6 separate regions of the Homo sapiens genome follow, and regions 1, 2, 3, 4 and 6 are each linked to region 5. Evidence: promoter capture Hi-C in human tissues and cell types (Jung and others, 2019). All regions are on one chromosome and are shown on one strand. Each heading gives the region's core, a stretch centred on a gene start or on the middle of the fragment in contact. The rest is flanking DNA. Distances are from core to core; before and after follow the strand shown. Region 1 has its middle 210 kb from the start of LINC01347. Region 2 has its middle 250 kb from the start of LINC01347. Region 3 has its middle 270 kb from the start of LINC01347. Region 4 has its middle 19 kb from the start of MAP1LC3C. Region 5 holds the start of PLD5 (phospholipase D family member 5). Region 6 has its middle 160 kb from the start of LINC01347.

What was found. The method cuts DNA at HindIII sites, captures the fragments that hold promoters and counts their contacts. A contact is called where the count stands out against the background at its distance.
Region 1: a contact is called between a fragment that was not itself captured here and the fragment with the promoter of PLD5 in region 5, in 6 of the 25 tissues and cell types used here (H1 embryonic stem cells, adrenal gland, bladder and 3 more).
Region 2: a fragment that was not itself captured here is called in contact with the fragment with the promoter of PLD5 in region 5 in 5 of the 25 tissues and cell types used here (H1 embryonic stem cells, dorsolateral prefrontal cortex, mesenchymal stem cells and 2 more).
Region 3: a fragment that was not itself captured here is called in contact with the fragment with the promoter of PLD5 in region 5 in 1 of the 25 tissues and cell types used here (hippocampus).
Region 4: a fragment that was not itself captured here is called in contact with the fragment with the promoter of PLD5 in region 5 in 1 of the 25 tissues and cell types used here (bladder).
Region 6: a fragment that was not itself captured here is called in contact with the fragment with the promoter of PLD5 in region 5 in 2 of the 25 tissues and cell types used here (adrenal gland and mesendoderm cells).

What each region holds. Positions count from the first base shown.
Region 1 is chr1:242,891,595-242,894,637 of GRCh38, forward strand. No RefSeq gene overlaps it. Among named protein-coding and RNA genes, the nearest start is that of LINC01347, 210 kb to the right of the region's middle. The HindIII fragment of the contact is 6,988 bases long and covers 1-3,043 here.
Region 2 is chr1:242,849,670-242,852,786 of GRCh38, forward strand. No RefSeq gene overlaps it. Among named protein-coding and RNA genes, the nearest start is that of LINC01347, 250 kb to the right of the region's middle. The HindIII fragment of the contact is 9,355 bases long and covers 1-3,117 here.
Region 3 is chr1:242,826,158-242,829,346 of GRCh38, forward strand. No RefSeq gene overlaps it. Among named protein-coding and RNA genes, the nearest start is that of LINC01347, 270 kb to the right of the region's middle. The HindIII fragment of the contact is 4,027 bases long and covers 1-3,189 here.
Region 4 is chr1:242,016,218-242,019,344 of GRCh38, forward strand. No RefSeq gene overlaps it. Among named protein-coding and RNA genes, the nearest start is that of MAP1LC3C, 19 kb to the left of the region's middle. The HindIII fragment of the contact is 9,592 bases long and covers 1-3,127 here.
Region 5 is chr1:242,523,423-242,526,421 of GRCh38, forward strand. It overlaps PLD5 (phospholipase D family member 5), which reads right to left and starts at 1,275. Exons shown (of 10, transcript NM_001372062.1): 1 at 666-1,275. The coding sequence starts at 854. The HindIII fragment of the contact is 9,545 bases long and covers 1-2,999 here.
Region 6 is chr1:242,941,920-242,944,905 of GRCh38, forward strand. No RefSeq gene overlaps it. Among named protein-coding and RNA genes, the nearest start is that of LINC01347, 160 kb to the right of the region's middle. The HindIII fragment of the contact is 4,970 bases long and covers 1-2,986 here.

The sequences.
Region 1 (3,043 bases), core at 499-2,998, 370 kb after region 5:
CTGCTCCAGGTGTAGCAGGACAAGCCGCAGACAAAACCCCTCAGACACTGAGTTAAAGAAGTAAAGACTTGGAACCAACCCAAATGTCCAACAATGATAGACTGGATTAAGAAAATGTGGCACATATACACCATGGAATACTATGCAGCCATAAAAAATGATGAGTTCATGTCCTTTGTAGGGACATGGATGAAATTGGAAATCATCATTCTCAGGAAACTATCTACAAGAACAAAAAACCAAACACCGCATATTCTCACTCATAGGTGGGAATTGAACAATGAGATCACATGGACACAGGAAGGGGAACATCACACTCTGGGGACTGTTGTGGGGTGGGGGGAGGGGGGAGGGATAGCATTGGGAGATATACCTAATGCTAGATGACGAGTTAGTGGGTGCAGCGCACCAGCATGGCACATGTATACATATGTAACTAACCTGCACAATGTGCACATGTACCCTAAAACTTAAAGTATAATAAAAAAAAAAAAAAAAAAAAAAAAAAGAAGTAAGGGCTTTATTCGGCCGGGAGCTTCGGCAAGACTCACGTCTCCAACAACCGAGCTCCCAGAGTGAGCAATTCCTGTCCCTTTTAAGGGCTCACAACTCTAAGGGGGTCTGCGTGAGAGGGTCGTGATCCATTGACCAAGCAGGCGGTACGTGACTGGGGGCTGCATGCACCAGCAATTAGAATGGAACAGAACAGGACAGGGATTTTCACAGTGCTTTTCTATACAATGTCTGGAATCTGTAGATAACATAGCCGATTAGGTCAGGGGTCGATCTTTAACTACCAGGCCCAGGGTGTGGCGCCGGGCTGTCTGCCTGTGGATTTCATTTCTGCCTTTTAGTTCTTAGTTCTTCTTTCTTTGGAGACAGAAATTGGGCATAAGACAATATGAGGGGTGGTCTCCTCCCTTACAAGAACTGTAGGATGGTGGTGAAGTCCCACTAGGAGCCCAGGAAGCTCCTGAAGGAGGGGATGGTTTGACCCTGGAAGGCTGGAACCAGGGATTCCACCAGCCTCTCCCTTGTGCCTGGCTGGGGGGTCCCTCTGCATAGTACAGATCTCCCCTAGGTTCAGAGTACGCTCATTTTCATACTAGAGAGGACCAGGAAGGACACGGTCAGTGACAGCATCATGAGCCACCAGGGAATTGGGATCTGGAGATCAGACTAGGAAGCCTCAACCCTTCAGGGACTTGTGCATGTGGAGGACATGGGTGTTCATGGTGAAAAAGGTTTTAGACTTTCAATGTAAAATGTGATGGGGGGGACAGATATTCATTAAATCATTAATAGCTTCAAGGCACCATCACAGTATTTGGCAACTGTGGAGCAACAGCACCCACCTGTATTAACAGCCTGTATGAAGAGCACTATCCAAGTGAGTCCTCAAAAAAAATACACTCATTGTATAGATGAGAAGACACAGACTTTTGGATGTCAAATGGCTGCTCAACAGCACATCAGTCAGAACAGAGAATCATCCACAAGGGAGGCTGCATGAAATTCCCTCTAAACTACCTGAGGCTCAGCCTGCTCCTGCCATGGAGGAGAAGGGCCTGGGGAAGCTTCCTTTCCTCTCCTTTTCAGAGACAGTGCACAGGGCAAGACACTCTAGAAGAACTCTTTGGACTTAAAGCAACATAATTTGTTTTTCTTCCTTTAACATTAAAGGGAGTCTTGAGAAATAGCTAAAACAATCCCACACCTGGCAAAAGGGAAAATGCCAGGAGACTCCAGGCAGAAAGCTCATCAGAGAACCTAGGGGATCTGAGCATTTGGCTCAGGGAAAAGACGCCCTGAGCAGATATTAAACAACTGAAAGACAACAAACACATCCATTGGGAAACTTGGGAATGAAAGGAACAACGTGATTGTACTTGCCACACAGACACCAGGTTGGCAAAACATTAGAAATGTTAACCTCCAGGGGAGGCTGAATGCAGGGAACCAGCTACCTTCAGGGACTGCTGGTGACAATGTACCTGCTACAGCCCTTTTGGAAAGTTATCGGGCTGTAGCTATACAATCTGACATATGTGTACTCCGGAGTGAGTTAGTATATGTTATCGGATGAATTGTGTTCCCTCCCACAAATTCATACACTCAGTGCCTCAGAATCTAACTGTCTTTGGACATATGCTCCTTAAAGAGGTAATTAACATGGCCAGGTGCGGTTACCGCTCGCTCACACCTGTAATCTCAGCACTTTGAAAGGCTGAGGCAGGTGGATCACCTGAGGTCAGGAGTTCGAGACCAGCCTGGCCAACATTGTAAAACCCCATCTCTACTAAAAATACAAACAATCAGCCAGGTGTGGCGGCACACGCCTGTAATCCCAGCTACTTGGGAGGTTAAGGCAGGAAAATCACTTGAACCTGGGAGACAGAGGTTGCAGTGAGCCGAGATCGCGCCACTGTACTCCAGCCTGGGCAATAGAGCAAGACTCGATCTCAAAAAAGGAAAAAAAAAGAGGTAATTAACATGAAGTGGGTTCACTGGGGTGGGCCCTAATCCACTATGACTAGAGTCCTTATAAGGAGAGGCAGCAAGGATACAGGGAGGCACAAGAGAAGACCTTGTGAGCACAGAAATAGAAGACAGCTGTTTACAAGCCAGGGAGAGAGGCCTCAGAGAAACTAGCCCAGCCAGGAGCTTGATGTCAAATTTCTTGCCTCCAGAACTGTGAGAAACTAAATTTCTGTTGTTAAAGCCCTTCAGTCTGTGATACCATGTTATGGGAGGTCTAGCAAACTGTTGCAGCCTCTTCAGACACACATAGAATGTTCCCTGCAGCCCAGTGGGGCTCTGTGTTCTGTGAGACAACACATTGCAGACAAACAAATAGAGTGGTTTCACCCACTTTTTGTGTACAAGTCCCCTTTTGGTAAAAAAAAAAAAACAAAACTCCCTAGTAAGACTGATGATTTGTGTTTGTTCTTTGAGACACAGTCTCACTCTGTCGCCCAGGCTGGAGTGCACTGGCCTGATCTTGGCTCACTGTGACCTCTACCTCCTGGGTTCAAGTGATTCT
Region 2 (3,117 bases), core at 533-3,032, 330 kb after region 5:
TAGATACTCAGTAGTGGGATTGCTGGATCAAATGGTAGTTCTACTTTTAGTCCTTTAAGGAATCTCCACACTGTTTTCCATAGTGGCTGTACTAGTTTACATTCCCACCAGCAGTGTAGAAGTGTTTCCTCTTCACCACATCCACACCGACATCTACTGTTTCTTGATTTTTTGATTATGGCCATTCTTGCAGGAGTAAGGTGGTATCGCATTGGGGTTTTGATTTGCATTTCCCTAATCATTAGTGATGTTGAGTATTTTTTCATATGTTTGTTGGCCATTCGTTTACCTTCTTTTGAAAATTGTCTATTCATGTACTTAGCCCACTTTCTGATGGGGTCGTTTTTTTCTTGCTGATTTGTTTGAGTTCATTGTAGATTCTGGATATTAGTCCTTTGTCTGATGTGTAGATTGTGAAGATTTTCTCCCACTCTGCGTGTTGTCTGTTTATTCTGCTGACTGTTCCTTTTGCTGTGAAAAAGCTTTTTAGCTTAATTATGTCCCAGCTATTTATCTTTGTTTTTATTGCATTTGCTTTTGGGTTCTTGGTCATGAAATCCTTCCCTAAGCCAATGCCTAGAGGGTTTTTCCAATGTTGTCTTCTAGAATTTTTATAGTTTCAGGTCTGATATTTAAGTCCTTAATCCATCTTGAGTTAATTTTTGTATAAGGTGAGAGATGAGGTTACAGTTTCCTTCTCCTACATGTGTCTAGCCAATTATCCCAGCACCATTTGTTGAAAACAGTGTCCTTTCCTCACCTTATGTTTTTGTTTGCTTTGTTAAAGATCATTTGGCTGTAAGTATTTGGGTTTATTTCTGGGTTCTCTATTCTTTTCCATTGGTCTATGTGCCTATTTTTATACTGGTACCATACTGTTTGGGCGGCTATGGCCTTATAGTATAGTTTGAAATCAGGTAATGTGATGCCTCCAGATTTGTTCTTTTGCTTAGGTTTGCTTTGGGTGTGCAGGCTGTTTTTTTGGTTCCATATGAATTTTAGGATTGTTTTTTCTAATTCTGTAAGAATAATGGTGGTATTTTGATGGGGATTGCATTGAATTTATAGATTGCTTTTGACAGTATGGTCATTTTCACAATATTGATTTTACCCATCCATGAGCATGGGATGTGTTTCCATTTGTGTCATCTATGATTTCTTTCAGCAGTGTTTTGTAGTTTTCCTTGTAGAGGTCTTTCACCTCCTTGGTTAGGTATATTCCCAAGCATTTTATGTTTTTTGCAGCTATTGTAGAAGGGGTTGAATTCTTGATTTGATTCTCCACTTGGTTGCTGTTGGTGTATAGAAGAGCTACTTATTTGTGTACATTAATTTTGCATCCAGGAATTTTGCTGCATTCTTCTATCAGTTGTAGGAGCTTTCTAGGGGAATCTTTAGGGTTTTCAAGGTAAACTGTCATATCATCAACAGTGACAGTTTGACTTCCTCTTTATCTGTTTGTATGCTCTTTATTTCTTTCTCTTGTCTGATTGCTCTGGCTAGGATTTCTAGTACTGTGTTGAAGAGGAGTGGTGAGAGTGGGCATCCTTGTCTTGTTCCAGTTCTCAGAGTGAATGCTTTCGACTTTTCCCCATTCAGTATTCTGTTGGCTGTGGGTTTGTCATAGATGGCTTTTATTACATTGAGGTATGTCCCTTGTATTCTGATTTTGCTGAAAGTTTTCATCATAAAGGGATGCTGGATTTTGTCAAATGATTTTTCTGTATCTATTGACATGATCATGTGACTTTTGTTTTTAATTCTGTTTATGTGGTTTATCACATTTATTGACTTGTGTATGCTAAACCATCCCTGCATCCGTGGTATGAAATCCACTTGATCGTGGTAAATTATCTTTTTGATATGTTGTTGGATTCAGTTAGCTAGTATTTTGTTAAAGATTTTAGCATCTATGTTCATCAGGGATATCAGTCTATACTTTTCTTTTTTGTTTATGTTCTTTCCTAGGTTTGGCATTAGGGTGATGCTGGCTTCATAGAATGAATTAAGGAGAGTTCCCTCTTTCTCTGTTTTGTGGAATAGTGTCAATAGGATTGGTACCAATTCTTCTTTGAATGTCTGGTAGAATTCTGCTGCAAATCCATCTGGTCCTAGATTTTTTTTGTTGGTAATTTTTAAATTATCATTTCAATCTCACTGCTTGTTATTGGTCTGTTCAGGGTATCTACTTCTTCCTGATTTAAGCTAGGAAGGTTGTATTTTTCCAGGAATGTATCCATCTCATCTAGGTTTTCTAGTTTATGCATGTAAATGTGTTCATACTGGCCTCAAATTATCTTTTGTATTTCCGTGGTGTCAGTTGTAAAATCTCTCATTTCATTTCTTATTAAGGTTATTTGGATTTTCTCTCTTCTTTTCTTGGTTAATCTTGCTAATGCTCTATCAATTTTATTTATCTTTTTGAAGAACCAGCTTTTTGTTTCATTTATCTTTTGTAATTTTTTTGTTTCAATTCACTTAATTCTGCTCTGATCTTGGTTAGTTCCTTTCTTCTGCTGGGTTTTGGTTTGATTTGTTCTTGCTTCTCTAGGTCCTTAAAGTGTGACCTTAGATTGTCAGTTTGTGCTCTTTTAGTCTTTTTGATGTAGGCGTTTAGGGATATAAACTTTCCTCTTAGCATCACCTTTGCTGTATCTCAGACGTTTTGATAGGTTGTGTCACTATTGTCATTATGTTTGAATAATTTTTTATTCCCATCTTGATTTCGTTTTGACCCAAGGATCATTCAGGAGCAGATTATTTAAGCTCCATGTATTTGCATGGTTTTGAAGTTTCCATTTGGAGTTGATTTACAATTTTATTCCACTGTGGTCTGAGAGAGTGCTTGGCCTAATTTCAATTTTCTTTAGTTTATTGAGGCTCTTTTGTGGCCTATCATATGGTCTATCTTGGAGAATGCTCCACATGCTGTTGAATAGAATATATATTCTGCTGTAGTTGGATGGAATGTTCTGTATATATCCGTTAAGTCCATTTGTTCCAAGGCATAGTTTAACTCCATAGTTTCTTTGTTGACTTTCTGTCTTGTTGACCTGTCTAGTGCTGTCAGTGGAGTACTGAAGTCCCCCACTATTATTGTGTTGCTGTCTATCTCAT
Region 3 (3,189 bases), core at 298-2,797, 300 kb after region 5:
AGAATGTTAGAGCTGTGTTCTGTTTAGTTCCTAGGTTAAGACACAGAGTCCTTCCCCTAAACTTCCTTATAGTATAATAGAGTGAGTCATTGGACCTAAACTACATATAACCTTTAGCAATGCAAGAATTATGATAACAAAGAGAATTATCTAGTAGGTCAGGAGTTGCCTGGCAGATAGGAGATGGAGATCATTTAATTTTAAGGAGATAAACTTGAGCTAATACTTGAAGGAGGGGAATATGACTGGACAAACAGAAGGAAGGCATCTGAAAAGCTGACACCTTGAGAGGTCGTTCCAGAGGTCCTGGAGGTGGAGGCAGAAATAGGTCTTATTACCCAGTCTTTGCATTGTCCCTCATACGTAGTGCTCTTTTTGCCTTCCTATGTCTACCACTCTTGCACACAGCATCTTTTTCTAATGTGCAGACAACCATCTGACCATCCGGAACTCTACACTGGCCCCTGGCCATATAATCCATTCAAGCAACATCACAGAGAGTGCAGGAGAGGCATCATAAAGGTGACAAAGTGACAAGAGCCCCGAGGCTCTGACACTTAGTAATATAAATATTTATGAAGCTAATAAGGACAGAGATATACTGATTTGGGTAACAAGGTGTCCTGAAAGGAATGTCAAGACCAGCTTTCAAAAACGGGGTTCCCCAGAGCCTCCCAAAGCCGCAGAGATGTGCTCAGGCAGCAGACCCTGCTGACAACAGCCTGCATGAAATGCAAGGGCTAGGGAGCCGGCTATTTTTATCATCCTATATTGTTTATAGTTGGCAAATGCTTGATATTGTGTGAGAGTCTCCTCACAGAATTTATGAATCATTTTCCCCAGTCACAATTCTGAAACGAACATTCTCCTACACATTTGTGCCAGACAGAAATTTCATTAGAAGTTTATCCTCGGGGTGTGCACTTTAGACCAACATTTTTTTTTTTACAGGCTCAGATCTGATGTCAGAACCCTGAGTTCTGGTCTCTGCCTCACCTCTTGCTAGCTTCTAACAGAGCTGTATCTGATTCTCTCTCTCCCTAGGCAGCAAGAGCATCTGTCCCACTCAAAAGAGCAGCAACAGACCTGGAGAAAGGAACTCCATTTCTTTCTCATTATATATATTCTCCATATGTTTAAATATTTACACACACACACACACACACACACACACATATCAATGGAAACAAATGAAAACCAGACCTAAGTTCATTATTAAAATCCCGGCTATGAACTTCCATTTTCTTTCCTGGAAAACATTTTTTGGGGATCTTTTGAACTCTAATGAAAATGTGGTGAAATTCATAATTGAAATATGTTTTAAGCTGCCTAAATTGTCTTTGCCTGAAGGCTGATTATATACTTATTAAGATGTCTCTGACCCCAGATGGTGAGAAAAAAGTATATTAAGTCATTTCTTGTTTTATTTAAATATTTATTGAACATTTACCATTTTCATCAAATACCTTTAGAGCATTTTATGAGCATTTCAAACATGCAAGTTTTATCTCCTTTTTACAGATGGGATGACTCTACACAGAGTAGCTGAGATAGGCTGACTCACTCCTGTGCCAATCCCTTGACTAAAGTCCTCAAAAAAAAAAAAAAAAAAAAAACCAGATGGAGTTCCAGATTTTGTCTACAGAAAATAGTTCTGTTGCTACAGACAAAGCCTCAGCATTAAAAATGCCAAGCTCTCCCCTCTCTAAAACTCTGTATCATTTTTTGTTTTCTGGGTTTAGGTATGACTAATACCTAACATTCACAAAGAGACAAAATAGATATAGATAGGAATATAGATTAGTTTTAGATACAGATATGTATGCACAGAAAAAGAAGAAAAAGAATGTACAGCAAAATATTAATCACTGGATTATCACTGGGGAATCGCTGCATGTTGTGGTCAGCTTGTGTTTCCTATCTTTTGCTTTTTCTGTTTTTACATCATTTCAGTAAATATATAATTCAGGACATATAATAACATTTTTACAGTGCTTCCACTTTTCCCTTCCTTCCTGTTCCTTCCTGAACAATGCATCCTCAAGCTATTTATTGAGGTAGAGCAAGACAGGCTGATAGGGATAGAACGGGCCACCGTGCCTCCAAGCAGGTGTCAAGGCCCATGTGGGGTGAAGAGGACATGCATGCAGGAGGGATGCCTGGCATGGGGTATGGGAACCCAAGTGGTAAAGAGGCTGTCTGAGAGGTGGGGCGGCATGGGAATGAGGAGTCAGTGTGCCAGCAAGATGAGAAGGCCATGTCTGCAGAGGGCAGCCTAGTACTGGGAATCAGAGACCAAGCATGGTAAGGAGTGTGTCTACGCCAGGGGGCATGATCGGCGTGAGTTGGAGGGCGTTAGGAGGGCATCCACACACAAGGGAAGCCTGGCATGAGTTGGGGTCCAGGCAGAATGAAAAGGGTGGTCATGTCTAGGTGAAGTCTGACAGCGCATGAAAACCCAAGGGGCTAAGAAAATGCCCATGAAGATAGATGGGGGGCAGGTGGCAGCATAGAACTGGGTGTCAGAAACTAAGTGAGGAGAGAAGGCCTCTAGGTAGGTTGTTCTATTTGTCCCTGTCAACCACATAATGTCTTGATAATGCTAATATTTCAGCCTCTTGATTATTTCTCCCAAAAAAGAGAAAAGATGTTTGGGTCCATGTCAACATGACATTGATGACATTGAAAAAAAGAAAATCTGCCACTGAAGTCGTTTTGTGTCATAAAAAAAATGGTTTAAGTTATTTGGAAAAAAACTCTGTCACTGTTCATCCAGGTTCGCCGGTCACAGACTCTCCCTTGTCTCCCTGGGCTTGAATCAAAGCCTCCCCAGCTGTGTCTTTGTGATGAGGCCAGAGAGCATGGCTGTATTACTCTTGGCATTCATGCTCAGGCAGAACAAAGGCAATCTGAATGTCTGATTCACCCCCACAGGGCTCTAACAAAGCAGTTAGGCTTTGGAAAAGGGTAAAAATTCAGCAGACACAAGACAAGCATGCTATCCCACCTTGATTCTCACGCCCACTGTAGATACTAATGATTGGGCATTAAATACTCCTTCCCACCAGGAACTCATGCCTCAGAATCTTTTTTAACACGGGATTCCAATTCCCCATTACCAATCAGTAGAAGTTGCTACAAAAGATGAAATTTATTTGCCAACCTTGATATAAAAATAATTGAAGTTTT
Region 4 (3,127 bases), core at 178-2,677, 510 kb before region 5:
GAAAAAACAAAACTCCTAAATATGACTCCTCACACCTAGGGTCAACTGCAAATCCCAGGCAGGACTCTTCACGGTCTGATCTCAATCCCTCCAACACTGTGTCTCATCCTGCACAACAAACCCTCCATCCCAGCTCCTCCTTGCCCCATCAGCACCCATTCCAATTTCCTCCTCCAAACCTTGAAGTTTTATCCTTGCATCTTAGATGCTCTTGGTGTTTCCTTTCAATCTTGCATGGATCTTATTCCAGGCAATATCTTTTACCCTAAAATATCTTCTGTAGTTATGGCATTGCCAGGTGCATTTATATTTAACTTTGAATGTGCTCATGGGCTCAGTAAATATGAATGGATTTGGCTTACTCTCAACCAACAATTAGTGAGAATTGTGCAATATGCAAAGATGTGCTTGATACAGCCTCTTCCCTCATTGGGAAGGTATGAGTGGATCATTTCTTCTCTGTTTATGTTCTCAATTGTGCATCAACTGGGTTATTTGTTTCCAAGCTTCAGAAGCTCTGTTTAAGCCAAGAACACAGCTACACAGCTGGGAATGTTCCTCTCCTGGGTGGAGAGTATTACAGAATGATTCAAATCATGGAATAGCATGTACTTAAAACCATCCAAGGGTGGCCAGACCACCTTTAAATCTCTCTCTTTAAAGTCTTGGCTTTGGTATATGGATTTTTGGTGTTTTGGTGAATAAAATTACTAACACAATCTACTTTGGATATATATTTAGACAGAGTGCTCTGCCTGCCAGGCTGGAGTGCAGTGGTGCGATCTTGATTTACTGCAATTTCCACTTCCCTGGTTCAAGCAATTCTCCTGTCTCAGCCTCCCAAGTAGCTGGGACTACAGGCACGTGCCACCATGCCTGGCTAATTTTTGTATTTTTAGTAGAGACAGGGTTTCACCATATTGGCCAGGCTGGTCTCAAACTCCTGACCTCAGGTGATCTACCCATTTGGGCCTCCCAAAGTGCTGGGATTATAGGCATGAGCCACCGTGCCCAGCCTGGACTGATATATTAGACTAAAAATTTGAATTATAGGCCAGGCACGGTGGTTCACGCCTGTAATCCCAGCTCTTTGGGAGGCCAAGGTGGGCAGATAATAAGGTCAGGAGATCGAGACCATCCTGGCTAACACGGTGAAACCCCATCTCTACTAAAAACACAAAAAATTAGCCGGGCGTGGTGGCGGGCGCCTGTAGTCCCAGCTACTTGGGAGGCTGAGGCAGGAGAATCGCTTGAACCCAGGAGGCGGAGGTTGCAGTGAGCCGAGATCGCAGCACTGCACTCCAGCCTGGGTGACAGAGTGAGACTTTGTGTCATAAAACAAACAAACAAAAACACTTAAAAAATAAAAATTTGAATTATCTTCAAATGTGATGGGGCCATGCGCTTACCAAAAATAAAATAAAATAATAAAATAAAATAAAATAAAATAAAATAAAATAAAATAAAATAAAATAAATAAAATAAACTACTACTGAGGTACACGAAGACCAAACTGCTGCTTGGACATACGCACAATGGGTAAAATGTGCCCCCGCCCTCCACCCGGCTACTGACTCTTTGTTGCCCTCTGCTGTTCCTCATGTTGGCTACATCGAGTTACTGCAAATAGAGCCAACTCTGCAAATTGACCAAGTGACAAATGATCACATTGAACAAATTTCCTGACTGTGGTTTTAACAGCATTGACATGAATGTTCCATTCTCAGTTACTGAAGATGAAATTCTAAACGTTAAAGTTAATGCTTTAAAAAATTTCTCCCCAAATTGGTAAAAATTCGAAGCAAAAATTCTGTTATGAAATAAAACACTTCCATTACATTTCCCAGCCTAAAATTTGGTATTCCATGTGATAGAATTAATTCTAGATAGTTCTTATTTCTTTTAAAATATTTGAAATATTATTTCTATTTTTTCCAGAACACAAACTTTTTTTTTTTTTTTTTTTTTTTTGTCGCCCATGCTGGAGTGCAGTGGCGTAGTCTCAGCTCACTGCAACCTCTGCCTCCTGGGTTCAAGTGATTGTTCTGTGTCAGCCTCCCGAGTAGCTGAGATTACAGGCATGTGCCACCATGCCTGGCTAATTTTTTTTTTTTTGTATTTTTAGTAGAAACAAGGTTTCACCATGTTGGCCAGCCTGGTCTCGAACTCCTGACCGCAGGTGATCTGCCTGACTAGGCCTCCCAAAGTGCTGGGATTATAGGCATGAGCCACTGCACCCGGCCTGAACTTACAAAATATATTAAAAATTCAGCAAGAAATACTCAAAATTGACAAGAGTTTAAAAAGCCATTTTTGATAAGTTGATACATTTGAATGAGATGATTTTCCTGTGTAGCCTCATTTTGGGTTATGATTTGATGTATTTAAGCATTTCCTTTATGTGCAATAAGTCTCATGGCTGCTCACTTAATACAGACACTTCATGTGAGTATAGTAGTTTATGGCTTAAAAATCTTTCTCCTTTTTTTTTGAGTGCAGTGGTATAATCTTGGCTCACTGCAACCTCCACTTCCAGGGTTCAAGTGATCCTCCCACCTCAGCCTCCTGATTAGCTGGGATTACAGGCGTGCGCCACCACACCTGGCTAATTGTTTTGTGTTTTCAGTGGAGACGAGGTTTCGCCACTGTTGGTTAGGCTGGTCTTGAACTCCTGACTTCAAGTGATCTGCCCCCTTCAGCCTCCCAAATTGTTGGGATTACAGGCATGAGCCACTGTGCCCGGTCTCTTACAAATGTTCTTGACACATTGTCTCAGTTGATCTGCACGGCATTTCTGAGAGGTGGTGGTGTTCTTGTCTTTCAACCAGTTAGGCAGGTACCTCCGAGAAGATGAGCAATTTCCACAAAGGCACCCAATTTAGAATATTAGAAACACCAAAAGTTTACATAATTCAGCTGTAATGCAATGTGTATTGGCTAGCATCTGCGGTTTAACACTATTGTTTTATCAAGCCCAGGCGTTTCCATACAAGTAGTACTTGGAACTCTCCCATGGGTCCTCCTCTTGCAATCACAGCATTTGACACTTTTGATTGGATGCTTTTTCATGGTAGCGAATATTTGTTGAGAAACTGTTCTGTATCAGTCACAGTGCTAAGCGTTCCTG
Region 5 (2,999 bases), core at 25-2,524:
CTTGGGAGTAGAGGTCCCCTCTCACCGGCTCCCACCCTCCAGAGGGGAGGATTTCTGGGGAGCCCGACGATCCGCTCGCTTTTAGCCTTTCTCCTTGCAACGCGCAAATCTCTCCCTAGTTGGGCTCAAGTAGAGAGGATCACCAACTGCTCATCCCAGCGGACACTCTGCAAAAAACTCTAATGGCTTGTGCGCGGGTCCACGCTGGTCGCTAGCGGCGCCAACTTTACTCATTCGTTAATTTGCTAGTTTTTGGACTGAGTAAAACAGCCCCCAAAGACGCGGGCAAACGCCGCTCTAAAGCCCACTACCATGCAACGCCAGGTTGCTCGGAGCCACGCTGGTGGCACTTCCCCTTCGTGCTCACTCTGCACAGGCACCTCCAGAACCCCGTGCAAATGAACCCTACCGGGAGACGCAGGTGGGCAGGTCGGGTCGGCAGGGACCAAGAGCCTGAAAGGGAACCTGCCCTCCCCTCCCCGCAGCCCGGTCATTAAGGCAAGAAACTGCAGGCAGAGAAGCCCCCGAATCCGACCTAGGACGTCGGCGCCTGCCAGGATCCCCTCGCCTGCCCCCCGCGCCCCGCGCGCGCTCATGCCACCACCACGGGGAGGGTGCATGCGGCAGGTGCCTGGCCGAGGCCCCCGGGAGCGAGTCGCCCTTACGTGCTCCAGCTTGTCTTTCCTCCGAAGCCAGACGCTGGCGCTGTAGTCCTGCTGCTTGACGCTGCTGTAGAAGTTCGCGCCCACTCGGGTCAGGCTTGGGGAGGGCTCCTTGGGGCGGCTTTTGAGCCTCATCTGCTCGAAGCCCTCATGGGGGGAGGCCGAGAGCCACTCGTGCTGCCGGATCTCCATCCTGACATGACCGGGCGGCCGCCGGCGAGCAGCGGACTCGGGACGGGCGCGCGGGGAGCCGGGCGCGGAGGGCGAGCGGGAGGCCCAGCGGGAGCCGGAGGTGGAGCTGGAGACTGAGCTGGAGGAGCTGGAGGAGCGAGCGGGCGCGGGGAGCGCGGGGTGCTGAGCGCCAGCTGGGAGCGCGGCCGGGCGGGAGGGGGCGATCGCGGGAGGCGCGGGGCGGAAGGAGGGAGGGCGAGGTGCGGGCGGGGGCGGGGGCGGGGGCGGAGGGGGACGGACGGGGAGAAGGGGGACGAGAGGGGACAGGGAGGGAAAGGAACCTGCTCCGGGGAGACAGAAGTGCCCGGTGCGGCGGCGACGTCGCCCGGCGGCTGCGGTCCCGAGCGGGCGCTCCGCTCGCCGGCTCCTTGCGGCACCTACTGGGACCCGGGCCGGCTCCCGGGGCGGCGGCGGCGGCGGGGGTGGGGTGCGGTGGGAGGGGCCGCGGCTGGCCCAGCCAGCCCGCGCCTGCAGGTTGGTGCAGTGAGGAGCCGCCGCCGCCCCTCCCGCCGCGCCCAGGCCCGGGCGGCCGCGCTCCCGCTCCGCACCCGCCTTTCCCGAGCAGGCTACACCTCTCCCTGGCGCATCTTTACTGGAAAGCCGGCAGGCGAGGGGAGAAGTGAGCGCCGTCTCCGCGCCTCCTCGGTCCTGCTGGCTGAGCGCGGGGATGGCTCCGGAGGGAGACACTCAGGAAACCACCTCCGCCCTTCCCCCATCTCTATCCAGCGGCGCCCCCTCACCCTGCCCCCGGCTCGCTTGGGCTGCGCCTTCCCCCATTCTGAAAGTTCACTAACTTCCCACCCCAAGGGACTTAGAGCAGAGGGTGCCCAGCATTCCCCCCTGAAAATAGCCGAGAGACATGTGTTTTCTGGAGCCGTACACGCTACTTTCATCCGATGGTGTGGCGATGCAAATACGCCCGGGGGCAGTAGCCCCTCGGGCAGGCACGCGGGACCGGTTGCTCCCCAGCCCTCGGTGTCCACCTAGAACCGGGCTCCCCGGGCCGCACCCATTCCGATCCTGGGAGGGTGATCCAGGGCTCCTCTGCAACGCTCCGCTTGTGCGGTGACTGTTCCTTAGGTGGACGTGGCCCAACTGCTGTGCATTTGTTTCTTTTCTCTGTTTCTAGGCCCCTAGGGTCCAGGCTTTTCCTTCGGGGCCCAGCCAAGCGTGATGATTATTAGGAATAGGGTGGCTTGTTCGCGATTAAATCTTCAATCTCTTCATCTTTTGCTATCTTTGGAGTCAACCTCTCGAAACATTTTTTGGTTTTATCTAAATGCTAAACAGCTGGTGTTCAGGGTGTCTCGTGTCTGGTTAAAAGCTTGGGAAGTGTATGGAAGCTGGAGAGGTATACAGGGGATTTTAGAGGGTGTTGCCAAGGGTAAACTGAAGGCTCTCTAGCCCTCGGCAGAACTGCCCTACTTGAATGACGGTTTCAAAGACATTCTGGCTGGGATTTCACAAACTTTTAGGAGGACAGGGATTGTGTTTCATATCTTTTCAAAGTCTCCATTTAAAAAAATGGTATAGTAAAAATAGTAGTTGAAATAAAATCCTGTGCACATTCAATATGGGGATGAAACAACTAAACACAAATACACACATTTTGGTTGTGCTAGGTTGGTTTTCTTAGGAGCTGAACTATATTGTGCAATAGATGCCCCGACCTGTGGGCTATCTCTAAGTCTCATGTTATCCTGCAAGATAAATGTTATTAACCCTCCTTTCCAGTGAGGAAAGTGAAGCAGAAGCAGAAATTACACTTCAAAACAAGGATATGAACCAGATTGAAAAGCTGTGAAGGCCAGGCGGAGTGGCTCAGGTTTGTAATCTCAGCCCCTTGGGAGGAGGAGGCAGGAGGATCACTTGATCCCAGGAGTTCCAGACCAGCCTGGGCCTACACTAAAAATAAAATAAATTAGCCAGGCGTGGTGGTGCTCATCTGTGGTTTCAGCTACCTGGGAGGCTGAGGCGGGAGGATCGCTGAAGCCTGGGAAGAGGAGGCAACAGTGAGCCGATATCGCACTGCACCCTGGGCGACAGGGCAAGACCCTGTCGGAGGTGAGGCTGTGAAAACTATACATTCCATTGTATAGCATCTCT
Region 6 (2,986 bases), core at 8-2,507, 420 kb after region 5:
TTTATCCTCTGAAAGCTTTCATAATCATCTCTTTGTTCCTCAGTATCCTGATATTTCACAATGTATGTTAGTCTATTTTCACCCACAGTGTTGGGCATTCAGAGAACCCTTTCAATCTGAAGATTTCTGTACTTTAGTTCTGGATTATTTTCTAAAACTGTTTCTTGATTTTTTTTTTTCTGTCTCTTTTCCCTGACTTCTTTGATTAACTCATGTTATCTAAGTTTTGGAATTCCTAGTCCTCAAATTTTCATAACTTTTTTCTTTTTGTCTTTAATCTTTCCTTTTTTTTTTTTTTTTTTTGAGACAGAGTTCACTCTGTCACCCAGGCTGGAGAGCACTGGTGCAATCTCAGCTCATTGCAATCTCCACCTCCCAGGTTCAAGCATCTCATGCCTCAGCCTCCCAAGTAGCTAGGATTACAGGTGCACACCACCACACACGGCTAATTTTTGTATTTTTAGTAGAGATGAGGTTTCGCCATGATGGTCAGGCTGGTCTCAAACTCCTGGCCTCAAGTGATCTGCCTGCCTCAGCCTCCCGAAGTGCTGGGATTATAGGTGTGAGCTACTGCACCCGGCCTAATCTTTTTGTTTGCTATATTTCCAGGAAGATTTCCTCAGCTTTTCCTTCGAATCATTCCACTGAGTTGATTTTTGTTTTGTTGTGTTATGTTTTTAATTACAGCTATGGTGGTGGGAGTAGGTCCCAAGATCTTTTTGTTTTCTAAATGTTTCTGTTTTCTAGCATTCTATCCCTGATCCATAGATGCATTTTATCTTTTCAGGGAAATTAGTATAAATAACTTTTTGTCTGATTTTGCATTTTCTTTTTCTTACAGGGAAATCTCCTCCATGACACTTTGTTCTGTTTGTATATTTGATTAGCTTTAATAATTTATATTATAATATAAACAATGGAGCCCAAATGTCTGGTGATCCTTGGCAGTCTGTAAATATTTAAGTGAAGTGCTAAAAAGCTGGCTGATTGTGCACATAACTGCACACCTCCCCACAAGGTGATCTATTCAGACTATTTCCTTGGGAATCCCCATGTCAATATCTGAACTAGTACAGATATTTCTTAGACTAGTACAGTTTCCCTAGAAAAAGCTTTTCTAATATCCTGCCTGAGGGTTATAAGTTTTGCTGTCAACTTTCTAAGAACTCATATGCTATGTAAACTTTCATTTAATTCACCTGTTTTTATTCTGGTACTCCTTCTCCCACTGTGCCTGGGTAACTCTAGAGACCCTCAGATTTTACCCCTACAAAGAATGAATCTTCAGTCTTCTGAAGAGGGCAGGAGGGACAGTCACCAACTGCACGGAATGAGGGAATCAATTTGCAAGTCTATTTTCTTCTTAAACTGACCATCAACCAATGCTTCAACCTTCACCTCGACCTCATTTCCAGAGGCACCTGATCTTGGTGATTCCTGAGCCTTTGCAAGAGCTTTGGAGGGTAGGGTATCTATAGAATAAATCAGAATCTCTGCTTCTCCCATTGTCAACCTTATACCTGACAAGTCAGGTACTTTCTTGGAGCTGACAAATCAGATACCACTCACCCATCTGTTTTTCAGCTTCTAAATTAGTGTTGCCATCATATCCTCTTTAATTCCCTTTGTACTTATAGGTTTTACCTTTTTATTTAAATTTATGGTCATTTTAGTAGGGCGTTGGGGAGAAGAAGAGAGTAATGGAAAAATGGACCCACTGTCATTTTGCAAGTCCTATGATTCAGTCCTTACACAGCAGCCAGAGTGATATTTTTAAAATTCATATTAGATCCTATTACTACCCAGAACCCAAATTGTCAGTGGCTTTTCATTATCATTACAATAAAATTCAAACTCTCTCTGGCTTATAGTTTACAAAACTCTACATTACCTGGGCTCTGACAAATCTCTGGCCTCATTTTCTACCCCCTTGTCTCTTTTTCACTAGATCCTAGTCACTTTGGCCTTTGTTACTCATGCCATGCCTGTTCCCACCTCAGAGCCTTTGCACTTACTGTTCTCTCTATTGGGAAGCTTTTACCCCCAGGTCTTCCAGCAGGCTAATTTTTGTGTGTGTGTGTGAGATGAAGTCTCACCCTGTTGCCCAGACTGGAGTGCAGTGGCATAATCTCAGCTCACTGCAAACTCCGCCTCCCAGGTTCAAGTGATTCTCCTGCCAGGACTACAGGTGCATGCCACCACGCCCAGCTGGTTTTTTGTATTTTTAGTAGAAACGGGGTTTCACCACATTAGCCAGGATGGTCTCGATCTCCTGACCTTGTGATCCACCCACCTCAGCCTCCCAAAGTGCTGGGATTACAGGCATGAGACACCGCGCCCAGCCCCAGCACGCTAATCTTTTGTCATCAAATCTCAGTGTAAATGTCACCTCCTCAGAAAGACTTTCCATGACCACCCAGTCTAAAAGAGCCATCCAGTCACTTACCACCATATTACCTTGTTTTAATTCTCTGCACAGGCTTGTGCATGATTTGATATCATCCCTGTTCATTTGTTTGTTTGCTGTGTTTATTATAAGAATTTAAGGTCAGTGAGAGCAGGGGCCTTATTTTCTTATTCACTTTATCTTGGTGCATAGAATAATTCTTGTATTAGTCAAGGTTTTCAGGGAAACAGAACCAATAATCTGTGTGTGTGTGTGTGTGTGTGTGTGTGTGCGCGCGCGCGCGCGCACGCATAAGAAAAAGAGATTTGTTATAAGAAATTGGCTCACGTGATTATGAAGGCTGAGAAGTCCAGACCCAGGAGAGCTGATGGTGATAGTTCCAGTCAGAACCTAAGTCAGAAGGCAGAAGAGACTGACATCCCACCTGGAAGACAATCAGACAGAGAGAAAGAATTCTTATTCGACCTTTTGTTCCATGTAGTCTTTCAGCAGCTAAGAAAAGGTCCATCTACATCAGGGGAATAATTTACTTTCTTCAGTCTACCTATTCAAATGGTAATCCCACTTACTGGGTAAAAT